Regions from separate parts of the Homo sapiens genome. Here region 1 is linked to region 2. The links are contacts of gene promoters, found by promoter capture Hi-C in human tissues and cell types (Jung and others, 2019). All regions are on one chromosome and are shown on one strand. The core of a region is centred on a gene start or on the middle of the fragment in contact, and the rest is flanking DNA. Distances in the headings are between cores, read along the strand shown.

The links. Contacts are between HindIII fragments. The study calls those that stand out against the background at their distance.
Region 1: a fragment that was not itself captured here is called in contact with the fragment with the promoter of BEND4 in region 2 in 2 of the 25 tissues and cell types used here (hippocampus and mesendoderm cells).

The regions. Positions count from the first base shown.
Region 1 is chr4:42,185,386-42,188,288 of GRCh38, forward strand. No RefSeq gene overlaps it. Among named protein-coding and RNA genes, the nearest start is that of BEND4, 34 kb to the left of the region's middle. The HindIII fragment of the contact is 4,180 bases long and covers 1-2,903 here.
Region 2 is chr4:42,151,355-42,154,085 of GRCh38, forward strand. It overlaps BEND4 (BEN domain containing 4), which reads right to left and starts at 1,301. Exons shown (of 6, transcript NM_207406.4): 1 at 1,178-1,301; 2 at 303-1,022. The coding sequence starts at 789. RefSeq lists an enhancer at 1-618 and silencers at 384-473, 674-993. The HindIII fragment of the contact is 6,033 bases long and covers 1-2,731 here.

The sequences.
Region 1 (2,903 bases), core at 22-2,521, 34 kb after region 2:
AGCCATTATGCTTCCTGGACAGCCTCCAGAACCATGAGCCAATTAAACCTCTTTTCTTTATAAATTACCCAGTTTTGGTAATTGCTTTATAACAATGGGAGAACAGACTAATATAATATTTAAATATACAAATACTTATGATTTGTTACAGTTGTCTGCAGTATTCAGTACAGTCACCTGCGGTACAGGTTTGCAGCTTAGATACCGTAGGCTGTATTATATAGCCTAGGTGTGTAGCGGACTCTACATTTAGGTTTGTGTAAGTACGATTAAATCACCTAATGATGCATTTCTCAGAACATATCCTCATCCTTAAGTGACGCACGACTGCATTTATAAGAAAGGAGACGGAAGAGTATGTTTGTATGTTGAAGATTATGAAAGTGCGTGGGTTGAATGGTGTCACCCAAAATTCATTTGTTGAAGTCTTAACCCCTGGTACCTCAGAATATGACCTTATTTGGAAATAAAGTCTTTGCAGATGTGATTAGTTGAGATGAGGTGAAACTGGAATGGGGTAGGCCTCTAATTCAACATGACTGCTGTTCTTATAAAAAAGAAAAATTTGGACACAGACATGCAAACAGAGAGAAGGCCATATGAACATGAAGGCAGAACTCAGAGTGATGTGTCTAGAAGCCAAGGAAGGCCAAAGATTGCCAGCAACCACCAGGAGCCAGGAGAGAGGCCTGGAAGACACCCTTCCCTGGCACCTTCAGAGGGAACTTGGCCTTGCTGATGTCTTGATTTTCTTTTAGTCTCCAGAACTGTGAGACAATACATTTCTGATGTTTAAGCCACTCCATTTGCAATACTTTGTTACAGCAGCCCTAGCCAACTATGAGAGAGAGAGAGAGAGAGACTTCTGAATAAATCCCAATTCTTAGGCTCTAACTAAGTGGGGTTGTTGGTGCAGCGAGCTGCTTAGTGACCACCATAGGAAATGGGTTAAAGACGACGTGGAGGCCAGGCGCGGTGGCTCAAGCCTATAATCCCAGCACTTTGGGAGGCCGAGGCGGGCAGATCACGATGTCAGGAGATCGAGACCATCCTGGCTAACACAGCGAATCCCCGTCTCTACTAAAAATACAAAAAATTAGCCAGGCGTGGTGGCGGGCGCCTGTAGTCCCAGCTACTCAGGAGGCTGAGACAGGAGAATGGCGTGAACCCAGGAGGCGGAGCTTGCAGTGAGCGAAGATCGCACCACTGCACTCCACCCTGGGCAACAGGTCGAGACTCCGTCTCAAAAAAAAAAAAAAAGAATACATGGAAATGTCAGCACACTAGACTAGGTACCTATTAAGAGGGTCACATCCAGTTTTTTAGTTGTATCTCTTCAACCTAGAAGTCATTGCTACACACTGCCTGCTGGAGACAAAAATCATTGTGAGCTTTTTAAAAAAATGGATCACTTCTCTATTACATAAGTTCAATAGAATCTAACATCGCAAGGCATAGTTCATAGTGCTCTCAGAGCCAACAGTTACAGTAACTTGGCAATATAAATCTTGGTAGTATTGACAGAAAGTGTTTATATAGATATTTCCAAATACCTCAACTTAGGCAGAAAAGTAGGAGTGAAAAATTAACAAATTGCACTCAACAATAGTTTAACAAATTGATTTCCACTAATATGAAAATGAAAAAAGATTCATATCTTGGGTGAATATTAATTTGTATGTTCTTTATAGAGGGTCAAATTCATCTTTAGGGTGAAATACATAAATCAACCCAATAAAAACTATATATATCAAGAAGAGCTAGAAATTTGTTCCCTGAAATGAAGCTTTTGCTTACTTCTAACTTGATCTTCATTTATTTGTTTTTTGAGAGCAAATGCATCATCAGACAATTGCTATCTTATTCACTTTGTAAATGATTTTAGATGATGTTGATTGTGCTAAAGGGATATAAGTTATATGGTAAATGGGAGAAAGGCTGTTTTTTGTTTATGGATTGCCTAGGATAAGTGGATATAAGACGTGGGAACGTTCGATGATGGAGTGTGGTGTGAGGAGAAGGAGAAAGTAGGAAAGAGGCAGTAAATGGACAACTTAAGCTGTGTGGCCTTGGGTAAACCTTTCAGGCCCATTTCCTGCTCTCTAACAGAGTTAGTAAGACCTAGCTCACTGTTGTATGTGAAAGCACCTGGAAGAGTGTCTGAGGCAAAGTCAAAGCACAATTGATGTTAGTGGTGTCTCTTTTAGATCGGGATTTGCAGTGAGAAGCAACGTGGTGGAGTGAGAAACCTGGATTTTGGTACACACTGATCTGGAAGCAAATTTCAGCTTAGCTTCTTGCCAGTGTGTGGTTGACTGTTAATCAGTTAGTGAACTTCCCTGAGCTTCGTTTTCTTCATCTTATGATTTTGTAAGGTTTTATGGTGATTCAATGAGATAACATAAAGCATCTGGCATTGTGACTATTACGGCCACTACTGGTCTATATGGTAACTTTATGTGAATTACGAAAATACACTCCTTTTTTTTTTTTTTTTTTTTTGAGGCAGAGTCTCACTCCGTCGCCCAGGCTAGAGTGCAGTGGCGCGATCTCGGCTCACTGCAAGCTCCGCCTCTCGGGTTCATGCCATTCTCCTGCCTCAGCCTCTCAAGTAGCTGGGACCACAGGCGCCTGCCACCACACCTGGCTAATTTTTTGTATTTTTTTAGTAAAGACGGGGTTTCAACATGTTAGCCAGGATGGTCTCAATCTCCTGACCTCGTGATCTGCCTGCCTCGGCCTCCCAAAGTGCTGGGATTACAGGCATGAGCCACCGCGCCCAGCCAAAAATCCACTCTTTCTTCCAGTGATTTTACTTCTGCTTATTAGAAAATTGTCCTAATATACTGAAAATTGGAACAAGACACTTAACTGCCATCTGCCAGAAAACTGTCAAAATATAT
Region 2 (2,731 bases), core at 51-2,550:
CTGGCCCCACTCCGGACCACGCCCGAGCGATCCTGGTCGCCGACTGCCACAGCCGTGCTTCCCGGCGCGGGATCCAAGCCGCGGAGCCACCTGTTAGGCGCGCGCCGTCGGAAGCCCAGGCGCGGCGGCGCTGGAGAATCCTCTCGAAGTTTCCGGGTGCGCGGGGAGGCCCCAGGTGCGCCCCGACATCCCGACACGGCCCAGCACGGGTAAGTGTCGGCGGCCCCCCGCTTCTCCTTCCTGGGTCCCCTCCCGCTGCCCCCGGCCGTGGCGGGAAGGAAAGTTGTGCGGAGAGTTGGTACCTGCGCTGAGCTCCAGGCTGGCGCTGTCGCTACCCGTGCCGCCGGTGCCGGCGGCCGCCGCCGCGCCTGGGCCATACCTGACGACAGCGGCGAACGAAGACGACGAGGAGGCGGCGGGGGACGCGGGCGGCGGCTGCGCCGGAGTCCTCAAGTGGCCCTGGGATGTGGCGGGCGTGCAGGACGGCGACGACGACGAAGCGGCGGCGGCGGCCCGGCCGGGCCCGGGGGGGTAGGAGCTCTGCGCCTGGAACTGCTGCGGCGGCGGCTCGCTGCTGCTGATGGAGACGGCGGCGTGCGGCGCGAAGGGCGGCGGGGGCGGCGGGGGCGCCCGCACGTGCGGCAGCTCCACCAGGGTGGGTCGCTCGTAGCGCTTGGCCAGCGCCGGTCTCTTGCTGGGGAACGTCTTGAGGACGCTGTAGGGGCTGCGCTGCTTGTAGATTTTGGGGACGCTGGGCCCCTCCTCTGCCGGCTGCATCTCTTCCTCCATCCGGCGCCTCGGGGCCGGTCCCTCGGAGCACGTCCCCTCCCCGCCGGGCGCCGGGCTCCGAGGGTGCCTCCGCCGCCTGCCCGCCGGGTCTGCCCTGGTGCGCGCGTGTGGGAGGGTGTGTGTCTGTGCCGTGGCCGCCGCCGCCGCCGCCTGTCGCTGAGGCTGGCATCGCCGAGCCCCCGCGCGGGGGGCTGCCGCCCGAGCTCCTGATTGACAGGCTGCCTCGCCAATGCCTGGAGGGAGAAAGGAGGTAAAGAGCAAGTGTTTAGGGTAATATCTGCTAATGATAATGGGGGCGGGGCGGGGCCTGGCGCCGCAGCCGCCCGCGGGGTCTGCCTGGCGGCTCCGCGCCTCCGACGGGGAGCGGGGGAAGGGGGAAAGCGAGGACCTGGAGGACGCCCGGGAACTGGTGAAGAAGGTGGGGATCCGGGATCTGGCTACGGCGAGACTTTAGAGACCCAGATGTGGACTCGAGGCTTCTGCGGCTGCGGGCGGGGTCCGGCTTCCGAAACGAGCTCGTGGCGCCCCCTGCATGACCCCAAACTCTCGGGGTTGCACAGAGGAGGGGCTAGTCGTTGGGGCGGGGTCGTCAGAGTACGTGTGTATTACAGCAAGTTCTTCTACCAATCGGGAATTGCTCTCCGATCCTTCTGAAAAGAACCTCTTGAAGATCTTGGCCCGGGTGGTCGCGCGGTGTTTACGGGGCTTTGGGGTCCTGCTTTCCCCGAGCATCGCGGCCTCTGAGCTCATGCGGAACATAAAAGCTCGCAAGGCGTAGAACTTTTTCACGTTTTCATTTGTTTCCCGTAGGGGCCCCGAGAACGTGCATGACACCATGATTTCCCCCCCATTATAAAGATGAGAAAACCGAGGCTCTGAGAGGTTGAAGGGAATTGCCCAAAGTCAGACACTCGGGAGTGTGCGGCTGTGTTGCACTGACGCATCCAGGTTATTTGAAGTCAACTCCTCACTTCCCATAGCCAGTAGCCTCTGTGCAATTGAGTGGGGAAATGTCCTGATACCTCCCTTTGAGGTGATGATTACTTTCAACAGTGTCATTTTTAATATATGTATATGTACTTGCAAGCCCAGGGAAACACGAGAACTCACTCCTTGCATTGTTTTACTCACTGCAACTGGCGCCATCCGGCGAGGGTCTGGAGGGTGCCCAATTTCAGTAGCCGTTTGAATGAGAGATCTCAGTCGTTGGGAGGAAGATCCTCCATGGGATGCAGATGTCCTGGTCTCTCCCAGCCACTTTTTGGGGCAGAGGGTCCATTGCTCCCTATCCCAAATCACCCCTCTTCTAGGCCAACCAGCATACCCTGCCCCAGGTTTGCTTTTCAGCCTTCCTTTTTCGTTCTCCAGGTCAGAGTTCTGGATGCTCCTTGATGTAGGACCCTCATCTCTGCACTCTGAAGTTTGTTTCCTTTTCAGAGCCTTCCTTTTATTCTTAGGAAGGTGACCCATTTTCTTCTGGGGGTTCACATCTTTTGGCCTCTCTTTCCCTGGTCTCCTTCCCTTTGGAAGCTTTTTCTCTCTGCCTTGCTGGTTCAGCTTCTGTATTATTCCCCCCTAGATTGTCTCCCTCTCTCCTGCAGCTTCCTCAGATGGTGCTGTGTCCCCCCCCCAATCCATTTATTAGAGATGAAATAAATAATGCCATAAATATAAGTATTTGGGAGTCCAGGAACTGTCAGGGCTGATTAGGGCATAGAGGACATTTTCTTTCTCATTATGCAAAAGCATTTCATGGGGAAATAAAAGAGGTTTCATTGTAACTCATGCATGTCATATTTCAAGGAATTCAAGATATTAATCATATTTAACATTATTTGCAATGTTTCTCCCTGGCTTCTGAAAACTGCTAAATGAGGACACGTGGATCACTAGGAAAAGGAGACAAGCATGAGAGGGACAGTTAAGAAATAATGAAATGCTG